Regions from separate parts of the Homo sapiens genome. Here all the other regions are linked to region 1. The links are contacts of gene promoters, found by promoter capture Hi-C in blood cells and fetal thymus (Javierre and others, 2016). All regions are on one chromosome and are shown on one strand. The core of a region is centred on a gene start or on the middle of the fragment in contact, and the rest is flanking DNA. Distances in the headings are between cores, read along the strand shown. Region 1 holds the start of IL22 (interleukin 22). Region 2 has its middle 84 kb from the start of LINC02420. Region 3 overlaps SLC35E3 (solute carrier family 35 member E3).

Evidence for each region. The method cuts DNA at HindIII sites, captures the fragments that hold promoters and counts their contacts. A CHiCAGO score of 5 or more calls a contact.
Region 2: a contact is called between a fragment that was not itself captured here and the fragment with the promoter of IL22 in region 1, in 1 of 17 cell types (naive CD8 T cells). The highest score is 6.1, in naive CD8 T cells.
Region 3: a contact is called between a fragment that was not itself captured here and the fragment with the promoter of IL22 in region 1, in 1 of 17 cell types (megakaryocytes). The highest score is 6.1, in megakaryocytes.

Annotation. Positions count from the first base shown.
Region 1 is chr12:68,251,195-68,255,456 of GRCh38, forward strand. It overlaps IL22 (interleukin 22), which reads right to left and starts at 2,410. Exons shown (of 6, transcript NM_020525.5): 1 at 2,389-2,410; 2 at 2,069-2,300; 3 at 1,570-1,635; 4 at 1,310-1,453; 5 at 319-384. The coding sequence starts at 2,254. The HindIII fragment of the contact is 7,204 bases long and covers 1-4,262 here.
Region 2 is chr12:67,356,438-67,360,699 of GRCh38, forward strand. No RefSeq gene overlaps it. Among named protein-coding and RNA genes, the nearest start is that of LINC02420, 84 kb to the right of the region's middle. The HindIII fragment of the contact is 7,279 bases long and covers 1-4,262 here.
Region 3 is chr12:68,778,548-68,782,809 of GRCh38, forward strand. It overlaps SLC35E3 (solute carrier family 35 member E3), which reads left to right. Exons shown (of 5, transcript NM_018656.5): 5 at 1-2,921. Among named protein-coding and RNA genes, the nearest start is that of MDM2, 27 kb to the right of the region's middle. The HindIII fragment of the contact is 3,050 bases long and covers 1,018-4,067 here.

The DNA.
Region 1 (4,262 bases), core at 1,160-3,659:
ACCGGGAAAAGTGCTGGCTTGGGATTCAGGAGACCTGCATTCTAGCCCTATCTCTGCCACTGACCATCCCCAGAATCTGAGGTTATGTGACTAGACAAGCTAAGATCCCAACCAGTTCTAGAATTCTACAATTTGCAAGATTTGGAAACTGACATCTAGATATATAGATATATCTACATACACAGACACCAAAGTAATCGCCCTGGTGGTAGGAGAATCAAGTGAAAAATCACAAAGTGATGGGAAGAAAGAAAGGAAAGAAAAACAACATTTGTCTCTCCTATTGCATGACTTAGCATTGACAGTTATCAGTCCTACCTTTTTCACTGTGTCCTTCAGCTTTTGCACATTCCTCTGGATATGCAGGTCATCACCTTCAATATGCTATAAAACAATAACAAGCATAACTATCTTAATGTTGTGCTGAAACTTTATGAACCTCCACACCCATGGAGGTACAGTACAATTCACCTGGAATTAAAGCTCTTAGTAATTTTGCCCACAATGACCTAGATTTCAACAGTGACCTAGATTTCCTGAGCTCTTGAATTCCCTTGGACGCCAGAATCCAGTCACTTCCCTTACAAGAGACCTCTCTTCATCTTTGGGAAATCCTACTGAGGTTTGCATTTGTGGAAAGAGCGGAGTAGTTTATGCAAATTCTGTAAGGAATAAAACCTCAATCGTATCTCCAGAAAATTGCATGCTTAGAACAAGAAATGTACATAAAACATCTCATGTGAAAATTAAGCCCTCTTCAGTAAGTCCTAGGGCCTTTTACTGGGCCCACTCCACTCAAACTTTTTTTCATAGTTTCAAATGTTCAGCGGCATCAAGTTCACACGCCTCCGATTTTGTGGCTTCCCATGACATCAACAGGGCAACAGTCTGCCGACCCACCACCGACTTTAAGCCTTCCCATTTCCCACTTTCTCTTCTAATTTCTCTCCATGCCATCCCCTCCCCTCAACAACTTAGACTCAATGGATCCATTTCCACATCTAGATGTTTTTCCCAACACCTTTCTCATCTTACGCAACCTGAGTTGCCTTTTTTCCGAAGACAAACCAATGCGGCTTCTGTACACTTAAGTTCCAGACCCCATTCACCACTATAAACTCAAGATGTGACTCAGTCAAAGCAAAAGCAAATACTCTATGATCCCAAATGACTCCTGATAACACTGCTGCCAAGACACTTCTTCCTGCTAGCTTAGGGGTAGGGGGAAGGAGAGAGAGTTGGGGTAAGGGGGTCTCTGTGGAAGGAGGGAAGGAGGGGTAGGTGGGCATAGGCTGAGAGCTGAACTTACACATGTGCTTAGCCTGTTGCTGAGCCTGGCCAGGAAGGGCACCACCTCCTGCATATAAGGCTGGAACCTATCAGATTGAGGGAACAGCACTTCTTCAAGGGTGAAGTTCAGCACCTGCTTCATCAGATAGCAGCGCTCACTCATCTGCAGGTGGAAGGGAAACAGAAAGGGTCATAAGGGATAAGACCTAAACCATCATCACCACCACCCCAAGTACCCATGGACGGCACACGGCCCTGTTCGTCACAACTGTAGCTTACACTGACTCCGTGGAACAGTTTCTCCCCAATGAGACGAACGTCTGTGTTGTTATCAGCCAAGCTAGCCTGGAAGAGAAGAAAAGACTAAGGGTCTGGACATTGAGCAAATAGAAAAAAAATTTATACATAGACATGTGCCCCATCCCGTCTCCCCAGAGCAACATCATAAAGACTAAAAGCAGAATTCAGATGTGTGCATGAGTTTAGAACAATGCACAGAGGCATAAAGGAAAAAAAAAATCATCAGATGGATTACTGAATGGCCGCTCTTTGGGAAAAATTCATCATATGTATCATAAAGGCCAAAATGGAAGGAAGAAGTTCAAGAAAAAAAAAAAAGCCAGATTCCCAAAGAGTCTCTGAAAAAACAGAAAATTTATCTACCCTCAGGGATAAACAGTGGGTTCCTAAAGCTCTTAGAGATGCTCTGAAGAAAAGTTTAAGAACTATTTGGATTCCAAGTAGATCCAACGAGAAAGAGCAGGATTGAGATGTATACCTCCTTAGCCAGCATGAAGGTGCGGTTGGTGATATAGGGCTGCTGGAAGTTGGACTTGTCAAGCCTGCAGTGGGAGCTGATGGGCGCAGCTGCTCCTCCCTGTACCAAGAGGGCCAAGAGAAGGAGGCAGCTGGTGGCCAGGGTCCCCATAAGGAAAGAGCTCACAGATTTCTGCAGGGCGGCCATTGCAGACAATTCTAACTCGAGCAACTGGTGACTGGGGAAGGAGAACCTGGTCGAAGACAACGTGAAGGAACAAAATTAGTCAAGAAGTATTTCATCAAACTAACCAATTGTACCAAGTTTGCCGAAACGCTTACCTGTTCTGAAGATTCTGCTTGTGACGGGGAAGGTAGAAGCTGCTGCTTTTATAGCCCCCAGGATACTGACTTTTTTTTAATTGTGAAAAATATGACATCAGCAATTATCTAATTTCCAGTACTGTCTTCTGAGAACGACCTAACCACCACAGGAGCCCACAAAACACCACCTCTATCCTTTCCACCTTGAGATGCAAGTGTTTCCCTAAAACGTCACTATTAGAGCCCGGAGGGTATTTTACAGACAAATCCCAGAAATTTTCTAAACCCTACATATTTTTCAAAGAACACAATTGTTTTGTCTTAGTAGAGTTCAGATTTAGTATAAAATGTTTTGATCTCCTATAGTGGCTGAGTAAGCATTTTGGTCACGGACTCATTTTCCTACCAGCTTTATAGATTCTTATCTCATTGGAGGTGATCAGAAAAAAAGGACCCATGTCCTATATCCTCTGCTTTAAAGTAAATGGTAATGACAGCTAACAGATCATTCCATTATTAAAATAATTTTATCTCATTTTTAAACATGCTGAATTCTAAACCAGACTTATGTTTCAAAAATAACTGTCTTGGCTAATCTAATTATTGTTTTCTTCCCTTTTTGGAACTATTTTTAAGTGATCATAACAATTAAGGCAGAAGTAAATATATCTTAAAATTGTATTAATTGAATTATAATCAATATCAACTTAAGTTTGTAAATACTAATGCTGAAAATCTGATCTCCTTTTTTCTTAACATGTAAACTTTTTTTAAAATAAAAGAATACCATGGATATAGTTCATCTTAAAATTTTACCTAATTCTACACTTCACACAAGTCTCAACATAATATTTCCAAATAATCCTATAACAACTATATATGTGTGTGTATATATATTATATATGTGTGTATACTATATATATACATATATATGCAACATTTTATATATATACATATATACACACACACACATGGATGTCTGAAGAAGGGAATATAGGAATATAGAGGTTCCGCGTTACCTTCAAATTATTTAAAAATACACCTAAAACTAGACTGGAAATTCTCCCGCAGAGCAAGGAAGCAAATGCAAGTATCAAAATGCAAATACCTATTGCTGAGGGAAGGAATGTGAATTAGTGCAAATTTGTATAATCAGATTTTTCTCCTCACAACTAGTTAAGATCAGGAGTGTTGAAGAACTGGAAGTAGGGATGTAAATAATTGTAAAACCTAGACCACTTTTTGAGATGGCACAGACCTAAGCAAGGTGCCACTGCAAAGGGTCGGAACCACATGAGGACACTGAGCATTTGTGAAGGTGGCCAGAGGAGAAAGAAGCAAAAATGAAGATTAGTGAGAGTAAAAAACACCACATGATCACACTTGCATGTGGAATCTAAAACACTTGAACTCATAGAAGGAAAGAGTAGAATGGTGGTTGCCAGGGGCTGGGTGGGCAAGGGGCAGCGAGATGGGGAGATGTTACCCAAAGGATACAACATTTCAGTTAAAGAAGAGGAATAAGTTGAAGAGCTCTATTGTCCATCATGGTGATGATAGTTAAGAACAATATATCGTATGCTTAAAAATCACAAAGAGCATAGATTGTAAATGTTCTCATTACAAAAAAAAATTTCAAGTATGTGAGGTAATGCATATATGTTAATTCACTCAATTTAGCCATTCCACAATGCATGCGTATATCAAAACATATATGAAATCAACCTAAGTATCCACAGATGGATGGATGAATGGATAAAGAAAATGTGGTATATATACACAATGGAATACTATTCAGCCATAAAAGAAATGTAATCCTGTCATTTGCAATAACGTGAATGAACCTGAAGGACACCATGTTAAGTGAAATAAATCAGATGCGGAAAAACAAA
Region 2 (4,262 bases), core at 632-3,131, 900 kb before region 1:
TAATTTTTAAAATAGCCCCTGATATTCCTCAACTCTTTATATTTAGCATTTTGTACACTATTCTCCAAGTTGGCATTTGGCAGCTTTTCCTCCTCTTAAGGCAAAGTTAAAAAAAAAAAAAAAAAAAAAAAGGGACATTTGCCAAGGAACAATTTCACCACAGGAGCTTGGCTGGGAAACGGGAATTTGGTATCTTGCTTGTGCACCTGCCAGTTGATTTCTGATTTCTGTATTAGGGGAGAGAGAAAGTTATTCTGAGGTTTATCATCAACAGCTGCCTAATCTTAATAGGTTTAGCTATCTTTTAGAGTTATCTAATTTGAAAATATCTGCTGTTTGATTACCTTTAATATTTTCCTTTTTAAAAAATTATACTTTAAGTTCTGGGGTACATGTGCACAACGTGCTGGTTTGTTACATAGGTTTACATGTGCCATGTTGGTTTGTTGCACCCATAAACTCATCATTTACATTAGGTATTTCTCTTAATGCTATCCCTCCCCTGGGCCCCTGAATATTTTCTTAAAACAAAAAGTTCCTGGTTTAGCAAGCAAAACTGGGATAGGTATGCAAAAGAGAATCCAATGGAGAGTTGAGCACAAGCAGCTAGAAGAAGAAAATGAATATACAGAGAAGGGAAGTTTGTAAAACTAAGGGTGGGAACTTTCTATAGGGCAGCACAGAATAGTTTTTTATTCACAGAAACTTTAACTATATTGCAGTACTTCGCAATTGAAAAGTGGAAAAGATAAATGCTTCATTCTAGTGCAGTAGTTTTGTAAGGGTTCTTTTTCTAATATGAAGTTTTTTTTTAACATTAATGTCTTCTAAAGTACATCTAGGTGGTCAATAAGTGCTTATTTGATTCATTCCTAATACAAATATTTTTGAGCTCCTACTGTTCACTGGATCGAAATCCTAATAAGTTTGAGTATGCATTTGCTATCTCAAGACGTTTGCTTTCTAATAGGTGGAGATAGACAGTAAGCAATTATTGGTAAGTAATGCTTTCTAAAACATGTAGGTTTTTCAGATTTTGGTAATCACAGCATGAAAGAAAGTCATCAAGGCCAGTTCTATGCAAGGCTGCAAAGCTAGGAAAGTATCAAAACAGCAGATCTCTGGCTTTAAATTCTAGCTTATGATTCATTAACAGTGTGCCCGTGAGCAAATTGCTTAACCTCTCTCAACTTCAGTTTTTTCATGTAAAATGGTAATAATAGTACTTATTGGTGAGTCTGTTATGGGGATTTAATGAAATAATGTAAGAAAAGCATTCAGCATGGCACTCACTTGAGACTCAATAAGTGGTAGCTACTGTGATCATTTCTGCTTGTCTTGCTTCAGCTGGTTTCCTTCCACTGCCAAGGGCTTGGTTCCTTGTGCTTGCTTGTTGCTGCCATTCTAGAGGAACACTCCTCCTGCCTCTTCAACAATACATGCACGCTGTGATGCTTCCTTTAGGTCTGCCGTCTCCAGGGGAATGGGGTTCTATTTCTAGAACTTACTTCAGGCTCCTGATCTCTGCCTGATCCAGTTAGATAACTGAATAGACTAGCCTGTGCCAAAGAGGTCAGCGCTAACCTTCACCCTTTGTTATTTTTGAGACAGAGTCTCGCTCTGTTGCCTAGGCTGGAGTGCAATGGCACGATCTTGGCTCACTGCAAGCTCTGCCTCCAGGGTTCAGGTCATTCTTCTGCCTCAGCTTCCCAAGTAGCTGGGACTACAGGTGCTCGCCACCACGCCTGGCTAATTTTTGTATTTTTAGTAAGAAAGGGGTTTCACCGTGTTAGCCAGGATGGTCTTGATCTCCTGACCTTGTGATCAGCCCGCCTCGGCCTCCCAAAGTGCTGGGATTACAGGCATGAGCCACCGTGCCCGGCCACCTTCATCTTTTACCTTGTTGAAAGAGGGCTGCTGAGACAGCCTGTCAGTGTGCACCATCCTGCATTCTGGCTTTTCTTTCTGAGGAGCGCTGCCTGTGGTCCTTTAACAGTTGCATTTCTGCTTCCAATGGCCGGACAGCCCAGGTATTCATCAAAAAGTGCTTATGAAGGGACTCTTCATTTCTAAATGTTGGGTGGACAGTGGTGGACAAAACAGACACTGGTGTCGCATTGAGCTTGGAGAAAAATGGAGACATAGACATTACACAGACAGACACACAGGGAAAAATATTTACAAATTTGGTAAGTACCACAAAGGAGGTGGTATGAGGAAGAACTAGGAGTCTGATTTAGATCAAGAAAGTGTATTAATTTTCTAGGGCTGCTGTAACAAAGTGCCACAAGCTGGGTGACTTTAACATCAGAAATTTATTGTCTCACAGCTGTGAAGAGTAGACATCTGAGATCAAGATTTTGGCAGGATTAGTTCCTTCTGAGGTCTGTGAGGAAGAATCTGTTCTATGCCTCCCTCCCAGCATCTGGGGGTTTGCTGGCAGCCTCTGGCGTTCCGTGGTTTTTGCTGCATCACCCCAACCTCTGCTTTCATCTTCACATTGTCTTCTCCTTGTGTGCATGTCTGACTTCAAATTTCCTCTTTTTATAAGGACTCCAGTCCTGCTGGACTAGAGGCCCACACTACTTCAGGAAGACCTCATCTAATTAGATCTGCAACAACCCTATTACCAAACAAGTTTACATTCTGAAGTAATGGGGATTAGGACTTTTAACACATGAATTTTTGTGGTTATGCAGTTCAACCCCCTACAGTCAACAGGGAAGAGCTCTCCAAGGAAGAAAAGAAAGGCATTTTAGTGGTAGAAGTGTCTCTTGGGGCTCTACAGTCATTCGGTATAAACAGCTGTTGCTCAGCCCTGTGTGAAGTTGGCCTTGTCACGGTAGCTTAGGCTGGGAATGGAGACAGAAAAACTCACATGAATTGTGCTTGTATATCTTGTTACTCATATGATTCTACATTTGAAAGTGGAAATTCAGTCTCCCCCGCAAGAGATGGGGCAGGAGGCTTTTTTTACTTCTTGTTCTTTGACATTAATGTGATCACTCTAGTTTAGGCTTTTGGATCATAGGGCAGGGAATGAAAATTTGGATAGTGTGACAGATTTATGCAATCATCTGTCGTGTCAGAGTTGCATGGAAATTTTAGATACTGAAAAAGTATCATTTGTGTTTTCATCCATCCATCCATCCATCTATTGCTATATGTGGGCACTGTGGTAGCTAATGGCAATGCAATCAGGTGATAGAAAAAATATTTAACCACTCATGATGTCAGGGCCAAAACCAATAACATCAGTAAACAATTGGTATGGCCACCCCAGGGCCAATCCACTAGCTACCAGCCATGTGTACAATACTTAATAACCAGCAATTGTCCTAGGTCTCATGAAGCTGGCAGCTGGCTAATAGAAATAAGATGCATACACATGTGTAATTTAAAGGTTTTTTTTCCCTAGAGTATGGGGTCTCATTTTGTTACCCAGGGGTGCAATGGTATAATCATGGCTTACTGAAATCTCAAATTTCTGGGCTCAAACAGTCCTCTCAGCTCAGCCTCCTGAGGAGCCAAGACTACAGGTGTGCACCACCATGCCTTGCTATTTTTCAAAATTTTTTTTATAGCGATGGGATTTTACTATGTTGCCCAGGCTGGTCTTGAACTTCTGGCCTCAAGTGATCCTCCAGTATTGGCCTCTGAAGTGTTGAGATTACAGGCATGAGCCACTGCACCTGGCCAATTTAAAGTTTTTTAATAGCTATGTTAAAATGTAAGAAGAGACCACTGAAATTAATTTAACAATATATTTTATTTATCCCAATATATCTGTCATTTCAACATGCAATGAATATAAAAATTATTGATGCAATATACCACATTCTTTTTTAATACTAAGTCTTCAAAATCTGGTATGTATTCTAATGCATTTACAGCACATCTTAATGGACAAACCACATTTCCAGGGCTCAATATTCACATGTGGCTGGTGGCTACCATATTGGACAGCACAGGACTAGAGGATAAATGGAGATCAGAGATCTAGCTCTCACTTTCTTAGAAAGAGAAGAGACCTACATAGAATAAATGTCCTTTGAGGGGCATTTGAAAGAGATGTAGTAGATGGATCATGGAGTGAGGGGAGTATATTAAAATATTAAATGAATGTATTTTTCATTTCCTTTTCCAACTTGAAATGTTTTCTTGCAGCCTTTCTGTCAGTGTGAGTCCCAGAAAAGTGGTGAGTATAAACAATGATTTGAGGAGAAGGAAATAATTGGAGTCAAGGCCCTGACAAACAAGAT
Region 3 (4,262 bases), core at 1,293-3,792, 530 kb after region 1:
GCAAGGCCGAAGCGGGTGGATCACCTGAGGTCAGGAGTTTGAGACCAGCCTAGCCAACATGGCGAAACCTCGTCTCTACTAAAAATACAAAAATTAGCTGGGCGTAGTAGTGGGTGCCTATAATCCCAGCTACTTGGGAGGCTGAGGCAGGAGAATTGCTTGAACCGGGAGGGTAGAGGTTGCAGTGAACCATGGTCGCACCACTTCACTCCAGCCTGGACAAAAGAGCAAAACTCCATCTCCAAAAAAAAAAAAGAAAAGAAACTGAGTCTTATGGCTGGATGCAGTGGCTCACGCCTGTAATCCCAGCACTTTGGGAGGCCAAGGTAGGTGAATCACTTGAGCCCAGGAGTTTGAGACCAACCTGGCCAACATGGCGAAACTCCATCTCTACTAAAAATACAAAAGTTAGTTGGGCGTGGTGGTGTGCCCCTGTAATCCCAGCTACTCAGGAGGCTGAGGCAGGAGAATTGCTTGAACCCAGGAGGTGGAGGTTGCAATGAGCCACTGCACTCCAGACTGCATTCCAGCCTGGGCGACAGAACAAGACTCTGTCTCAAAAACAAAAACAAAAACAAAAAACTAGGTCTTTCTCTGTGGCCGACGCTGGAGTGCAGTGCCTTTTTGCAGGCACAATCATAGTGCACTGCAGCCCTGAACTCCTTGGCTCAAGTAATCCTCCTGCCTCAGCCTCCTGAGTAACTGGGACTATAGGTATGCCCTACCATGTGTGGCTATATTTGGTAGGTTTTAAATGAAAAGATTTTTGTTTTCTGTACATTTATTTAAATTTAAAAAGTATTTAAGCCATCTTTAAGAAACTTAATGTTGAGAATGTTCTAGAATAGTGAGTCATTAGATTTCAAAATATTGGTATTGAACCAGATGGTCTTGTGGCTTCAAAGAAGTCTCTGAAGTCACTCCAGGTGATATTAAAAGTACAGTGCTAGGACTGTCTGACCCAAAATATGTGGCTGGAACCAGAAAGGATATAAGCATGGTTTGAGAAGGAAAAAAAGCTTAACAAGGGGGAATTGAGGAAGCCATTTGCAAAACTTCACAGGAAAGTTAAATGAATGAATGAATAAAATGTGATTAATAAATATGGGGGCCAGGTACAGTGGCCTGCATCTGTAATCCCAGTGTTTTGGGAGGCCAAGGCAGGAGGTGCACTTGAGGCCAGGAGTTCAAGACCTGAGCAACACAGCAAGACCCCCGTCTCTATAAAAAATTTTATAAAATTAGCCGGGCATGGTGGTAGACACCTGTAGTCCCAGCTACTTGGGAAGATGAGGCAGAGGATTGCCTGAGCCCAGGAGTTTGAGGTTATAGTGAGCCATGACTGTGCCACTGCACTCCAGCCTGGGCAACAAAGTGAGACCCTGACTCTAAAAGTAAAATTAAATTAAATTAAAAATAAGTGGATAAATATGGGTTATGCTGTGAAGCATAGAGGGAGGGATGAAGAGGGACATTTTAAGCCACTTCTCTGGCCCCAGTTTCTAACATTATTTCTAAAATGCAGGATATCTGGTTATCCCAAACCAGTTATATTTTTATTTAAATTTGCTCAAAATTTTTATTTTTAAATCTTAACAATTTCTAAAATCACACTTTTTAATTTATTTTGTATTTTTTTGAGACAGGGTCTTACTTTGTCACCCAGGCTGGAGTGCAGGGGCACAAACATGGCTCACTGCAGCCTCGACCTCCCAGCCTCAAGTGATACTCCCGCCTCAGCCTCCCAAGTAGCTGGGACTACAGGCATGCACCACCACACCTGGCTAATTTTTTTATATTTTGTTTGTAGAGATGGGGTTTCACCATGTTGCCCTGTCTAGTCTTGAAACCTTGAGCTCAAGAGATCTGCCCACCTTGGCCTCTCAAAGTGCTGGGATTACAGGCGTGAGCCGTCCTGCCTGGCCTAGTCACACTTTTTTTTTTTTTTTTTTTTTTGGAGACAGAGTTTCACTCTTGTTGCCCAGGCTGGAGTGCAATGGCATGATCTGGACTCACCGCAACCTCCGCCTCCTGGGTTCAAGCGATTCTCCTGCCTCAGCCACCCAAGTAGCTGGGATTATAGGCATGCACCACTATGCCCGGCTAATTTTGTATTTTTAGTAGAGACAGGGCTTCTCCATGATGGTCAGGCTGGTCTCGAACTCCTGACCTCAGGTGATCTGCCCGCCTCGGCCTCCCAGTGTTGGGATTATAGGCATGAGCCACCGCGCCCAGCTAGTCACGCTTTTTAGTCAAGATTTTTAAAAATGTCTGCATGCTTTTCTGAGAGCCTTACCTCTCTTGTGATTTGAAGCATTTTCTCCACCAGGCCTAAGGCTGAAGGAATGTAGTTTGCTGCCCTTCAGTCTATGACAAGGAGGTCTGTTTCCTCCAACGCCTGCCTTTTAGACAGAGTGTTGATTCACAGGGAACAGAGGCAGACCTGGGGCTGACACTGAATGAATGCTACTCACAGCAGTAAGGGGAAAAGTGGGAAAGTCTTGTTTATGCTGTGGCTGATGTGGATGTCTTTGGGGAAGAAAAATTCAGGATGAGTTTATTGAGAGCATTATTTTTGAAAGTATAAGATTTGTGATTGTAATATAAACTTAAATCACTTTGGGAATGAATTTAAAAAATCTATGTGACACAAATTAATCATCATTCTCATTGTAAATTTGGCAAAGTATTTGTAATTAGGAATATCTGTCATACTGGCACTGGGCAAATTATTCTGAATGTTCCCATGCTGAAGATTCTCTCAAAAAGGGAAAAAACAAGATCCTTTGTTTGTATAAGTACAATCAGTTTGCTGAATAAAACCTTTATAGCTACAATTATAACAGGATTGTTTCTACATTTTAGCTTGGAGATCCCATGACTACTCTGTTTTGCTAATAATAAACCAATACAGTGCTACAGAGATGTTTCTTTCATTAATGTGTTGCCTTCCCTTGCCTTGCCTTGCCTTGCCCTGCCTTGCCCTGCCTTGCCCTGCCTTGCCCTGTCTTGCCTTGCCTTGCCTTGCTTTCTTTTTTTGAGACAGGGTCTCACTCCATTGCCCAAAATGGGATGCAGTGGCATGATCTCGGTTCACTGCAATCTCTACCTCCCAGGCTCAAGTGATCCTGCCACCTCAACCTTCCAAGTAGCTGGGACCACAGGCATGCGCCACCATGCCAGGTTAATTTTTTGTATTTTTTTTTGGTAGAGATGGGGTTTCTCCATGTTGCCTAGGCTCATCTTGAACTCCTGAGCTCAGGCGATCTGCCTGCCTCGGCCTCCCAAAGTGCTGGGATTATAGGAGTGAATCACCGTACCCGGCCTCATTACTATGTTTTCTAAAGTTGTTTCATTCCTACCTTTCTCCTCGAAGCCCCTCAGCTTCAAATATTCAACAAACCATGATTCTGACCTCTATGCTTTCTTTATTCTCTTCGTAGCTCTGTGAGAGCAAAAAACTTACCTGTCCCCAGTGGGTAAAACAGTGTTGCACACAGTTTAGACATTGTCTTTATCATCTCTAAGCTGATAATTCTCATATCCAAGTCTTTAGTTCTATGCTCTTGTCCATAGTTTACTGTTGTTCTTTCAAGAAAAAATGGTGTCCCATGAAAAAAGCAGTGTACTGCAGCACAGAATTCAATCTCTAGGAAGGTTATTCTTGAGATAACCAATGTATATACTTTGGTGTGCAGAAGTGCTTATATGTGCTTTCCATTGTATCATACAGAGTACTAAAAAGATGTGCACTCAAGGATCAAGACTAAATAAAATTAATAACTGTGACTGCTTCTTCAAGGACGTTCTTCAGTGAATTTTAAGAAAAACTGGCTTTTTAAACTGTTGAGTACATAGTGATGAACAATGACTGCTAATACAGCTGGTGCCATGGCTTTGATTCATGCCAAGGTAACAACAGTTTTACCTACCATTGCTTTTGTGCCATCATGCAAAGGTCCAAAAAGTGCAAAAAGCAAGTAAAATCTTAGTATTATTATGAGAGCTCTGACCTCATGAGACCTTTTTGGGGGTCCATGAACTACACTTTGGGAACGGCTGCCCTAAGCTTTTAGGATGTCATGGTAAACAAGATCACAAGGTCCCTGTCCTCATAGAGCTTAAGAAGACAAACATTTAACAAGTAGAGAAGTGACTAAGATGACTTCAGAGTATGATCAGGTCCCTGAAGAGAATAAACAAAGGGAATGTGATGGATAAACTAGGGGTTGGGGGGCTGGGGGGTGCGGCTTTTGAAAAAC